Regions from separate parts of the Homo sapiens genome. Here region 1 is linked to region 2. Evidence: promoter capture Hi-C in 16 types of primary human blood cells and fetal thymus (Javierre and others, 2016). All regions are on one chromosome and are shown on one strand. The core of a region is centred on a gene start or on the middle of the fragment in contact, and the rest is flanking DNA. Distances in the headings are between cores, read along the strand shown. Region 1 holds the start of CARMIL2 (capping protein regulator and myosin 1 linker 2). Region 2 holds the start of AGRP (agouti related neuropeptide).

Evidence for each region. Contacts are between HindIII fragments. The CHiCAGO score rates a contact against its expected background, and 5 or more counts as called.
Region 1: the fragment with the promoter of CARMIL2 here is called in contact with the fragment with the promoter of AGRP in region 2 in 8 of 17 cell types (total B cells, naive B cells, endothelial precursors and 5 more); the score reaches 9.5 in total B cells.

What each region holds. Positions count from the first base shown.
Region 1 is chr16:67,640,227-67,646,676 of GRCh38, reverse strand. It overlaps CARMIL2 (capping protein regulator and myosin 1 linker 2), which reads right to left and starts at 1,533. Exons shown (of 38, transcript NM_001013838.3): 1 at 1,391-1,533; 2 at 1,046-1,137; 3 at 900-953; 4 at 597-659; 5 at 367-491; 6 at 160-251. The coding sequence starts at 1,430. RefSeq lists a silencer at 1,450-1,839. The HindIII fragment of the contact is 10,344 bases long and covers 1-6,443 here.
Region 2 is chr16:67,480,545-67,486,946 of GRCh38, reverse strand. AGRP (agouti related neuropeptide) reads left to right here and starts at 3,400. Exons shown (of 4, transcript NM_001138.2): 1 at 3,400-3,430; 2 at 3,546-3,678; 3 at 3,837-3,922; 4 at 4,129-4,376. The coding sequence starts at 3,549. The coding sequence ends at 4,311. It overlaps ATP6V0D1-DT (ATP6V0D1 divergent transcript), which reads right to left and starts at 5,553. Exons shown (of 4, transcript NR_184227.1): 1 at 5,428-5,553; 2 at 2,619-2,837. ATP6V0D1 (ATPase H+ transporting V0 subunit d1) reads left to right here and starts at 5,790. Exons shown (of 8, transcript NM_004691.5): 1 at 5,790-5,990. The coding sequence starts at 5,861. RefSeq lists a silencer at 5,510-5,679 and enhancers at 5,790-5,839, 6,000-6,239. The HindIII fragment of the contact is 2,406 bases long and covers 3,088-5,493 here.

The DNA.
Region 1 (6,450 bases), core at 284-2,783, 160 kb before region 2:
GAGACAAAACATCAGCGATGGAGGAAGACCAGACCCACAGACTAGGTGGTGGCTGGGACCTGAATGGCTCTGTTCAGTTTGGGGCCCCCCCAGCTTGCGGGTCTGGGGAGGCAGAGGTGGGGCAGGCTGGAAGGCCTGTGGCTCTGCCTTCACCCTTACCACAGGGGCTGCAGGGGTCAGTGGACTCCGAGGGGCTGCTTCTCTCCAGCCGAGCCAGCATGGAGGCTGGTGTGGGCCTCCGGAATAGCTTCCTGGTAGGGGGTTAAGGAGAAGGGGGCAAAGGACTTCCAGCCTCTGGGATGGGAAGCAGCCCTTCTCATGCACTCCCTCCTCCCCTGCCAGCCCCTCGAATTTGCCAGGCCTCACCCAAGGGTCGAGCGAGGGAAGACCTTCTTGATGGCTGCAGCCACGTGCTGGGCCAGCTGTTCCAGGGCGGCCACACCAGGAAACTCCAGGACCAGCTCACGCAGGGACTCCAGCTCAAAGGTGACCTAGGGAAGGGGCACTACTAGGCCTCGGCTCCACACATGGGCGCAGGTGATGGTGGTAGCATGAAGACCAGGCTGCAGGCCCAGGTAGGGTACTAGGTGTCTCACCTGAGGGGGTGTCTCCTGCAGCGCCATGGCCTGGACCTCCAGGTAGCTGAACGTGCAGTCCACCTAGAAAGGGCCTAGATCAGCTGGGACCAAGCCCCCAGCCCCGCCCTCATGGAAGTCCAGTCCTTTGGGCAGCCTGGGGCAGAGCCAGATCTGCCTGGACTCCCCTCCTGTCGGCTGCCCAGAGCCCAGTGCTGGTGCAAAGTCAGGGCCCACAAGGCCAAGAAGGACCACTCTGCAGATGCAGCCCCCTGCCAAGGTAGCTGCTGGCGGGCGGGGGTGTGGCCAGGCCCTGGGACTCACCCTCAGCGGGAGGCAGGTGGTGTGCAGCAGGTAGGCTCTCCATCGTAGCAGTGCCTGGGGAAAGACAGTCTGATATCCTGGGCAGAGCAAGAGGCTCTTTCTGTGGGGCCACAGCCGCCTCCCCGGCTCTGTCCCCTGCCCCATACCAGGACATGGTTTTGCACAGCACCCTCCCCGGGTAGCCAGGTTTTCAGCAGCAGCTCCACCTCTTTGGGCCACAGGAACCTGGTGATCTCGCCTGTGGAAGGGCAGCCTGCTGGGTGACTTCAGTCCTTGCACAGAAGCCACTGGTGCCCACAGTCTGTGCCAGGCTGGGGCCCTGGGGCTTATCTGCGGCCAGCGAGGAAGGAGGGGAGAGGATCTGGGGCGCCTGCCCTCCTGGGGAGCAGGGAGGACCTCTGACCAGGCCCTCTGGGGCGCTGGGTGGGCCTCTGATTTTGGGGCTGCACTACTTCCTCCCGGCCAAGAAGGCAGGAAGGGCCAGCGCTTACCTCGGAGCTCACAGGAGATGCCGTCGGGGGTCTGGGCCATGGGCCGGGCGGGCCGGGGAGGCCCAACGAGCTCCGGCGGGAAACAGCAGAGGACGAGCGCGCACACAGGAAGCCTGGGGCCCAGACCCGCACGGCAGCCACCTGCTCCTCCGGCGGCGGAAGGTGCGCGCCGCTTCCTGCCAGGCCGCCCCCGGCCCGGCCCCTCCCCGCCCCGGCCTCGCGGCTCGAGAGCTTGCCCGGGAGCGGGGTTGTGGGAGGGGGGCCGAGTCCCACCTGCCCGCCCGCCCCGTCGCCCAGGAGCTTCTCCGCCAGGGTAGACGTCGGGGTGGGCAGTGGCGTGGCCGGGAGGGTCGCGGGTGTGGCGGGCCTCCAGCGGGTCCTTGCCCCCGGCTTCCACCCCGCCCCGCAGTCCCTGCCGCGAACACCAGGGGACGCTGCCTGCCTGGGGATCCCCGCGGCCCACCGGGGCTGGTCCCCTCCAAAGCCCAGGCTGCGGAGGTGGACGAGGCGCCTGGCAGAAGGGGGACTGTTCAGCAAGGAGCGCCCGAATTCTGCCAACACCGGAGGTCCTGCCCGTTGCTCCGAACCTGGAGTCCGTGACCCTGTTAGGGATCCAAGAGATTTTGAATGGGTGGGAAAAAATGTCAGATGGGGCCAGGCGCGGTGGCTCACGCCTGTAATCCCAGCACTTTGGAAGGCCGAGGAAGGAGGAACGCTTGAGCCAAAGAGTTCGAGACCAAGCTGGGCAACATAGGGAGACCCTGTCTCTGCAAAATAATTTACAAAATTAGACGGCGTGATGGCGTGTGTCTGTAATCCTAGCTACTTGGGAGGCTGAGGTGGGAGGATCACTTGAGCTTGGGAGGCAGAGTTTGCAGTGAGCGGAGATCGCACCACTGTACTCCAGCCTGGGTGACAAAGCCAGGTCCTGTCTAAAAAAAAAAAAAAAAAACAGCCTGATGGGTCCAGACGCCCTTCCTTGCCGCAGAGGTGGGGTCAGGGCCGAAGGTGAGGGTGTACCCGGAGCCTTCGGGGGGAAGCCTGGGGCTAAGGTGAGCCCTGAACCCCAAGCACTTCATAGAGGGCCGGAGTGAGTCGTCCAGGTACATGAGGGTCTTCTTGTGTCTGCCTTCTCCCCAGGCTGGAGAGAGTTTGGGAGGGGGCAGCCAGAGAGAGAGAAATAAGCCAGTGTCTCCAGGGCTGAGAGGGGTCAGACAGTCATAGGGTGGGGCCTGGTAGCCTGTTGCCCTCTCAAAGACCAGGACCTAGATTCTGGAAAGTTCACAGGAAGAGACTGCATTTTTTTTCTTCTATTACAATCTAAACTCCACTTAAGCGGTAAGGAACAGCAGTCTACCCTGCCCATAGCTCAGCAAGGTGGAGGTGAAATGACAGCTAAGGGTGACAAGGAGGAGTCAGCTGCAGAAGATGCAGCACAGAGAGTTCCTGCTGCCTCCCCGATTGAAGAGACATACTTGGTTTGTTTGTTGGTTTTGAGATAGAGTCTTGCTCTGTGGTCCAGGCTGGAGTGCAGTGGCACAATCTTGGCTCACTGCAGCCTCCGCCTCCCAGGTTCCAGCAATTCTCCTGCCTCAGTCTCCCGAGTAGCTGGGATTACAGGTGCCCACCACCATGCCTGGGCTAATTATTATTATTATTATTATCATTATTATTATTATTATTTTAGACAGAGCTTCGCTCTTGTTGCCCAGGCTGGAGTGCAGTAGGGCGATCTTGGTTCACTGCAGCCTCCGCCTCCCAGGTTCCAGCAATTCTCCTGCCTCAGTCTCCCGAGTAGCTGGGATTACAGGTGCCCACCACCATGCCTGGGCTAATTATTATTATTATTATTATCATTATTATTATTATTATTTTAGACAGAGCTTCGCTCTTGTTGCCCAGGCTGGAGTGCAGTAGGGCGATCTTGGTTCACTGCAACCTCTGCCTCCTGGGTTCAAGCAATTCTTCTGCCTCAGCCTCCCAAGTAGCTGGGATTACAGGCATGTGCCACCACACCCAGGGAATTTTTATGTTTTTAGTAGAGACGGGGTTTCACCATGTTTGTCAGGCTGGTCTCCAACTCCTGACCTCAGGTGATCTGCCCACCTCGGCCTCCCAAAGTGCTGGGATTACAGGCGTGAGACACCATGCCTGGCCACGAAGAGACATAATTTGGATTAAGATCTAAGGCTCTAAGACCACACAGAACCCTCAAACTGCTTGTAGGGTGACAATTCAGTAGGTCTCACACAGTACTGCCAAGGAACCAAGAATGCAGGTTCTGGCCAGGTGTAGTGGCTCATGCCTATAATCCCAGCATTTTGGGAGGCCGAGGTGGATCGCCTGAGCTCAGGAGTTCGAGACCAACCTGGCCAACATGGTGAAACCTTGTCTCTACTAAAATACAAAAAGTTAGCCAAGCGTGGTGGTGGGCACCTGTAGTCCCAGCTACTGGGGAGGCTGAGGCATGAGCATTGCTTGAGCCCAGGAGGCAGAGGTTGCAGTGAACCAAGATCTCACCACTGTACTCCAGCCTGGGCGACAGAGCAAGACTCCGTCTCAAAAAAAAAAAAAAGCAGGTTCTGCAGGCACACTGCCTAGATTTTGACACTGAACACATTGCTTAGCCTTTCTGGTCTTCCAGTTTTGTTTGTAAGCCGGAGCTATTAACTAACCTCAAGCCTTGCTCAAAGGATTCAATGTTTATTAAGGGAAGTGCCCGCAACAGTGCCTGGCACTCAGATAACACTCACATTTGCCAAGTCTACCATGACAACCCAGGGATTCCAAAACAGAATGGCAGAAAATCCACCTCACTGGGATTTTTCTGTTTAGAATGACAAGGAGGAGAGAGAAATGAGAGTGACTGCCAAAAGGGCTGGAGCCATGCCCAGGTGGAGGGCCTCTGGAGGCTGCAGCGATGCCAGTGGGGCCAGTCCCTGTGTGTGTGAGCACATGGGGGCAGGCAGGGACAACTAAGAGATCTGGACAGGCTTGCAGGGCTAGCCACGTGGCTGATGGTGGTCAGGGAGGTAGTAACACAGCAAACCTGATCTCAGAGACCAAGTGAACACATGGGACTCGGTTCTTACAAGTGACAGTGACTCAGTGAGAAGCTGTCAGCTTGTTCAAGCCCGTCTGTGTTCTGGATGGCATGCCACTCCATGGGCATTCAGGAAATGTCAAAGCTCCCGAGAGCATCAGCCTCGCCTGCTCTGGGTAGCACAGGCTGAGGGCGAGACTTGCCTCCCAGGTGGGCCGGGCTATGCCCCCTTGGTGCTGCCATAAGGCTCACCACAGATGATTTTCAAAGACCAGGTCCTGACAAGTCAGAGAAGGGTTCAGGTACTTGCTGAGCTGGGCAGCAATAGGGTGATGCCAGCCTAGGGGTGAAAGGGGCAAAGGTTCTTTACTTCTGTGGCTTAACACTGAGGGAGCTGCATGCAGGTTCAGGAACTTCCCTGTCAACAGAAGCAGTAACACAACTGGCTTCTGCTGCTGAATGTTTTATAATTAAGGGACAGACAGGATGCATCCTGGGCTATGCAGCAGGAGGATCCCTTTTCAGCCTTAACTCCATCAGGATGTCAATTCTCTTGCCCCCTCTCCAGCTAAAACAAATCCACTTTTAAACTTTTTTTTTTTGAGACGGAGTCTCGCTGTCACCCAGGCTGGAGTGCAGTGGCGCAATCTTGGCTCACTGCAACCTCCGCCTCCCGGGTTCAAGCAATTCTCCTGCCTCAGCCTCCCAAGTAGCTGGGAGGCTACTTTTAAACTTTTAAACTTTCTAACAGAGGGCCGGGCATGGTGGTGCACGCCTGTAATCCCAGCACTTTGGGTGGCCGAGGCGGGCGGATCATGAGGTCAGGAGATTGAGACCATCCTGGCCAACATGGTGAAACTCCGTCTCTATTAAAATACAATTAGCCAGGTGTGGTGGTGCGTGCCTGTATTCCCAGCTACTGGGGAGGCTGAGGCAGGAGAATTGCTTGAAACTGGGAGGCAGAGGTTGCAGTGAGCCGAGATCACGCCACTGCACTCCAGCCTGGCAACAGACCGAGACTCCATCTCAAAACAAACAAACAAGCAAACAAACAAACAAAAACCTTTCAAACAGAATGTATACAATCAGGAATGACAGGCTGTGTTGAATGAAGATACAGAAAAACTGAGCCTCATTGTTCTGCAAAGAGGTTATATATGCTTAGGTGGCTGGGAATGGTGGTTCATGCCTATAATCCAGCACTTTTGGAGGCTGAGGCAGGAAGATCACTTCAGTCCAGGAGTTTGAGACTAGCCTGGGCAACATAGCAAGATCCTATCTCTAAAAAAAAAAAAAAAAAAAAAAACCCTAAAAAAACAAAAAAAACAAAAATGAGCCAGGTGTGATGGCATGGCCCATAGTCCCAGCTATCCAGGAGGCTGAGGTAGGAGGATTGCTTGAGCCTAGTTCAAGGTCACAGTGAGCTGATTGTGCCACCACATCCCAGCCTAGGTGACAGAGTGAGACCCTGTCTCAAAAAAAACTTGGAATTAAAAAAAAGTTGGGGCCGGGTGTGGTGGCTCATGCCTGTAATCCTAGAACTTTGGGAGGCCGAGGCGGGCAGATCACCTGAGGTCAGGAGTTCCAGACCAGCCTGGTCAACATGGTGAAACCCCATCTCTACTAAAAATACAAAAATTAGCAAGGTGTGGTGGTGGGTGCCTGTAATCCCAGCTTCTCAGGAGGCTGAGGCAGGAGAATCCCTTGAACCCGAGGTGGAGGTTGAAGTGATCCAAGATTGTGCCACTGCACTCCAGCTTGGGTGACAGAGCGAGACTCCGTCTCAAAAAAAAAAAAGAAAAAAAGAAAAAAAGTTTTGGCTGGCTGGTAGGGGGTACCCTGGCGGGTAAACCCGTGGATGGGATAGAGAACTCAAGCTCCAACAGCCTGAGACCACTAACTTTCAGACCAACGAGTTAACTGCCTGGCTGAGTCCCGAGGCCCCAGGAGGCCCTGGGTCGTTTTCCTGGGAGACCCATCTGTGTGGACAGCACTAGCCAGCTAAAAGCTTCACACA
Region 2 (6,402 bases), core at 2,151-4,650:
AGGGGCAATGGGCTGGGTAGGGGTTTCAAAATCAACCCTGATTGACAGAGCCACGGGTGCTTGCAGTTTTTCCCTGCACCCCCCACCCTCTCCCCTGGACAAGGTGGGAACAGGGCCCTTGAAGGGGAGTACACTGCAGGAGGAAAAAGAAGAGAAGGGAGAGGGTTTGAGCACCCCTCTCTGTCCTCATGTGGTCTCTGGAACGAGCATGCACACTCTCCCCTTTCTCCTCCCTGCACAGAGTCCCTGTGTTCCGGGCCCACACCCTCACTTAGGAGGCTCTGCCTCCCCCAGGGTTTCCCAAATCCTCCTCCCAGAACATGCCACATATTTCTGAAGGTCCTTTTGCCAACAAGCATTGTCCTGGGAATATCAGGCTGGTTCCTTACCGTAAAATTACCCACATAGTGAAACTTTTTTTTTTTTGAGATGGAGTCTCACTCTGTTACCAGGCTGGAGTGTTACCAGGCTGGAGTGCAGTGGCACGATCTCAGCTAACTGCAACCTCCGCCTCCTGGGTCCCAGTTCAAGTAAATCTCCTGCCTCAGCCTCCCAAGTATCTAGGATCATAGGTGCGTGCCACCATGCCCAGCTAATTTTTGTATTTTTAGTAGAGATGGGGCTTCACCATGTTGGCCAGGCTGGTCTTGAACTCCTGACCTCATGATCTGCCCACCTTGGCCTCCCAAAATGCTGGGATTACAGGCGTGAGCCACTGCATCCGGCTGTGAAACTTTTTTTTTTTTTTTTGAGAGAGTCTCGCTCAGTCACCCAGGCTGGAGTGCAGTGGCGCGATCTCGGCTCACCGCAAGCTCTGCCTCCTGGGTTCACACCATTCTCCTGCCTCAGCCTCCCAAGTAGCTGTGATTACAGGTGCCCGCTATGACGCCCGGCTAAATTTTTTTTTTTTTTGTATTTTTAGTAGAGATGGGGTTTTGCTGTGCTAGGCAGGATAGTCTCCATCTCCTGACCTTGTGATCTGCCCACCTCGGCCTCCCAAAGTGCTGGGATTACAGGCGTGAGCCACCGCACCTGGCCTTTTTTTTTTTTTTTTTTAATGGGGACTGGGTTTCGCCATGTTGCCCAGGCTGGCCTCGAATTCCTAGGCTCAAGTGATCTGCCTGCCTCAGCCTCCCAAAGTGCTGGGATTATAGGCGTGAGCCACCACCACCATGGCTCACTGCAGCCTCAATCTCCTGGGCCGAAGCTATCCTCCTCCCTGTCTCCTGAGTAGCTGGGACTACAGGTGTGCATCACCACATTCAGCTAATTAAATTTTTTTTTTTTGGTAGAGACAGAGTCTCACTATGTTGCCACTCCTGGGCTCAAGAAGGTGTGAATCACTACACCTGGCCGTTTTTTTTTTTTTGTTTAGTTTTGTTTTTGTTTTTTGAGACGGCAACTTGCTTTGTCGCCCAGGCTGGAGTGCAGTAGCGCGATCACAGCTCATTGCATTTTGGCGCTGGGTTTTCTTGATATCTCCCCCACTGGACCTGACCGGGGCATGGGCTGCCCTGTGAGTGCCTCAGCCCTCGTCCATCACTGCCCATGGGGCTGATACACCTGTGTGCACACACTCAGGTGAAGACAGCTGCTGCCCGTAGGTGAGGTAAGACACTGAGCACCTGTGTGGGAGGAGATCTTCCACTCCCACTCTGTCCACACCAGACCATGAAGAGCTCTCCATAGCATGGGTGCTGACCAGGCCCAGCCTGGGTGACAGAGTGAGACCCTGACTCAAAGAAAAAGACATAATGAGGTGTGATTTTAATTTCTTGGATGTCCCAGTATATATAAATGTTGGGAGTATGGATTGCTTCATTTCATTTTAAATAGCATTTTTTTTTTAAGATGGAGTCTCACTCTGTCACCCAGGTTGGAGTGCAGTGGTGCGATCTCTGCTCACTGCAGTCTCTGCCTCCCGTGTTACAAGTGATTCTCCTGCCTCAGCCTCCCGGGTAGGTGGGATTACAGGCATGTGCCACCATGCCTGAATAACTTTTGTATTTTTAGTAGAGATAGGGTTTCACCATATTGGCCAAGCTGGTTTGAACTCCTGACCTCCAGTGATCCGCCCACCTTGGCCTCCCAAAATGCTGGGATTACAGGCGTGAGCCACCGTGCCTGGCCACCCTTTATCTTCTTTTCTTTTTGAGACAGGATCTTGCTCTGTCGCTCAGCCTGGAGTGTGGTGATGCAGTCATAGCTCACTGCACTCTTGAATCCCTGTGCTCAAGCCATCCTCCCACCTCAGCCTCTACTACAGGCATGCACCACTACACCCAGCTATTTTTTTATTTTTTGTAGCAACGGGGTCTCACCATGATACCCAGGCTGGTCTTAAACCCCTGGCCTTGTGATCCTCCCACCTTGGCCTCTCAAAATGCTGGAATTACAGGTGTGAGCCACCATACCTGGCCCCCTTCATCTTTTTTCCACTGCCTTGTGCCAACCCAGTTTGTGCACTGGGGCCTTGCGATCCTCTCAAAGCTGATTCAGCCTGCATTCCTTTCCCAGATGGACACGTGTGTGATAAACAGCTCTGCAGTGGGGTGAGGGAAGGCAGGGGCAGCAGGGTCCTGTATGTCCTGCCATCTCCACAAAAGGGCAGTCCTTACCCCAGCCTTGTGCTGATGAGACCAGGCATAGACAGTCCTGACGACACAGGGCGGAAGGGAGCAGCCATTAGTGCTAATGAGGCAGGCGGCCTGAAAGCTTTGTACTCTGCAGTGGCTCGCCCACCCAGGGAACAGTTCGTTCTGTTTCCTTGGCTTCCAGGAACCCTAGGCAGAAAGGGGTTTGGGGACAGGAGCAGGAGTGGGCGGTCTTGGAGAAACCTGGAGGGAGAAAGGGAGGGGAGGACCAGAAATGTAGTCAGGAGGGCCTAGGATTGGTTAGGTGGGCTTTTCCTTCCCCTTTCCCTCCAAAGAAACCCAGGTTCTGGTTCTGCACCTACCCCTGCCCAACAGTGGCCATTGGCCCATCACCCGCTCCAATGTCCTTGACCCGAATTCTTGGAAGCACAGGAAACAACATGCCACATAGGGGTTGAGTAAGCATCTCTGGGGCCACAAATTAAATTAAGCTTTCAGGGCCGCCTGCCTTGTTATTGCTAATGGTTCTAGCCCTGCTCAGCTCCTAGGTCCCTGTCCTGTGGAAATTTGTGGACCCTGGGCACCCTCTCTTGCTCCCAAATTTTAATCGGCTCCTGGAAACCTCACCCCAAATTGGAGATAGGCACTCCTCTTGTAGAACAAAAGGCTCAGGTTCAGGGAGTGAGGGCCTGAACTGTGCCCCCACCCTCCAGGAAGGGTCCTTCACGGCCTGGCTGCAGGGATCAGTCACGTGTGGCCCTTCATTAGGCCCTGCCATATAAGCCAAGGGCACGGGGTGGCCGGGAACTCTCTAGGCAAGAATCCCGGAGGCAGAGGTGAGTCCTCAGGTTGGGCAGGGACTCCTCCTCTCTGTGGGGTCTCTATCTGGGCACCTAGAGGGGACTCCAAGGATAAGGAGGGACTAAGTGGTACATCTTCCTGCTGAGCCAGGCCATGCTGACCGCAGCGGTGCTGAGCTGTGCCCTGCTGCTGGCACTGCCTGCCACGCGAGGAGCCCAGATGGGCTTGGCCCCCATGGAGGGCATCAGAAGGCCTGACCAGGCCCTGCTCCCAGAGCTCCCAGGTCAGTGTGAGCAAGGGTGGGACTGGGCGGGGCCTGAATACCCTCTGGCCACAAATAGTCTCCCCTGGCATAAACCCTCTTTCTCCCTTCCCAAACCCTCCCCTGGGAGGTGGGTGCTTTGTGCATGGGGGTTCCTGCCCTCACATCCTCTGCCCCAGGCCTGGGCCTGCGGGCCCCACTGAAGAAGACAACTGCAGAACAGGCAGAAGAGGATCTGTTGCAGGAGGCTCAGGCCTTGGCAGAGGTAACTGCTCAGGGAAAAGGGTAAGGTGGTGGCCCTTGGGAGGGGGCATTGGGTATTAGCTCCTCTCCCCAGCTCCAAACTCCCTCACCAGCGACGACACTACCGACCACCCCTTCCCATGCTCCACTGCCATCCTGCACAGGTTGGGACAGGTAAGATCCCTGGATCTGTCTTTAGAGGCCTGTGCTGGTTCCCCACCCCTGCAGGTACTAGACCTGCAGGACCGCGAGCCCCGCTCCTCACGTCGCTGCGTAAGGCTGCATGAGTCCTGCCTGGGACAGCAGGTGCCTTGCTGTGACCCATGTGCCACGTGCTACTGCCGCTTCTTCAATGCCTTCTGCTACTGCCGCAAGCTGGGTACTGCCATGAATCCCTGCAGCCGCACCTAGCTGGCCAACGTCAGGGTCGGGGCTAGGGTAGGGGCAAGGAAACTCGAATAAAGGATGGGACCAACCCCAAGGCTGTGGTTATTTCAAACGTGGCCGTCAAAGGAGGGAGGGTTCATGGAGGGGGTGGGAGTGTCACCAAGCCAAGAAACCACACATACTCTTATCCCAGGGCCTGGGCTACCCTATCATAGGAGGCACATACACGGGCGCTTTTAGGGGTCCTGGTGCCCCTGGGAAAAATAGAGAAGAGCCGCACTCCAGCTTTCGAAAATCTTGTACAGCAAGTGCGGGGAACGCAGGACGCAGCGTGGCACAGGGGCTATCACTCCTGGCTAACAAATAAGCCTTAGGCTCCAGGGCTTGCTGCTACTTCCACGCAAAGCCTGCCCCTCATCCTGTTACCAGAGGGAAGGCCAGGAGTGTGCGTTGTTCAGGTCCTTAGCGTTTCGAACAAAGAATTGAACAAAACCCAGAAAGTAACAAACGAATGACACACAGGAAGGAAGCAGACAGCTGGGATTTGTTAAAGCGAGAAAGCACTACGCAGGGTGGGAGTGGGCCTGAGCAAGAGGCTGAAGGGGCTCAGTTACAAAGTTTTCCGGGTTTTAAGTACTCCTTTTGCGGTCCCTGTCCGTTACCCCTTATCTGGATGAAGGGTTTGGTCCATGGCTAATTAATCCATTTATGCCTGAGGTTGCAATCTTTTTGAATTTTTGCAATCAGACCTTGGCCATGACCTTGAGCAGTAGGATATAAATAACTCCCATATGCTTAGCGTTCCAATAATGGAACACAAGGCATAAATGGGGCTAAGGTGAATTGGCGCCCTATGCAGATGAAGGGATGGCCCGTGCTTGGCCCGCAGCCAATCCAAGGCACTCTCCCTTTCAACTGAGACGTGGTGGAAGGGGGAGGGTTGTGGGGACAGTGGCCTTTGATCCTTTGTTACTTGGACATGGGGAGATGGGGTTTTTCTTTTTGGTTTAGCTTTAGTAAGCTCGCCTTAGTTGGCCTCCGGTTCCCTGCCCCCAGACCTTGGTGTTTTCCCTTGATTCAGCTTCAGAATTCAGCACGTATTGGCCTCAAGTTCCCCGCCTCCAGACCCTATTCTCCTACCTCAATCGGACCTCAGTTTCCCTCTGGGGAGGAGGCTGGCCCAGCAGTCTGGAAACTTTCCAAGCTTGAGAAGGGCTCGCTCCCTTCTTTACCCCGCCCGCCCTGCAGCGTCAAGTGCAGCAAACCGGGGAAAGCTAGAGAAGGCCCAGTCAAATCCCTGCGGCCACAGGCGCCACCAAGCGGCCGGCCTCAAACTTCCTCTTTTTAGCGCGCAGGCGCCGCAGGGCCAGCCCACGCCTGCACCGCGCTTCCGCGCAGCCACCCGGAAGCCGGGCACCGCTCAGAGCCACGCCCCCTTATGGTCACGTGAGGCGCTTGCGCGTCACCTGACGCACTTGACAGCCCGCTGAGGACGCAGCGTCAGCTGACCTGGGGAGTCGCGATTCGTGCCGGCCGGTCCTGGTTCTCCGGTCCCGCCGCTCCCGCAGCAGCCATGTCGTTCTTCCCGGAGCTTTACTTTAACGTGGACAATGGCTACTTGGAGGGACTGGTGCGCGGCCTGAAGGCCGGGGTGCTCAGCCAGGCCGACTACCTCAACCTGGTGCAGTGCGAGACGCTAGAGGGTGAGCCGGGGCCGCGAAAGGCGGGGATAGAGGCTGTCCGGGGCCTGAGGGTTCAGAGGTGTAGGCCGGGAAGCCGGAAGGGGGGGTCTTGAAGGGCCTGAGAGGCCTCTCTGGGAATCCTGGGGCTGATAGCGGACGCGCAGGAGCGGGATCTACCTCTAGCTGTGGCTCGGCGCGGGCCCAAACTCAAACAAGGCTTTAAGAACCGCAGTTGTTCGCCTCTGCTTGGGCCACCTTTTCTCTCGCTGTGCTCACCCTGCAGTTTGGGAGGAGGGGGTGTTTCGGGGGTAGTTGGTCGGTGCGAGGTGTGGCCATACAAACCTCTTTACCCTGACGTAGCCCGAGAGCTGTCGCGTAGCAACCCTTAGGGAAGCTAAGCGGAAAAGTCCCCCACCTCTTCCCCCTCCCCCCG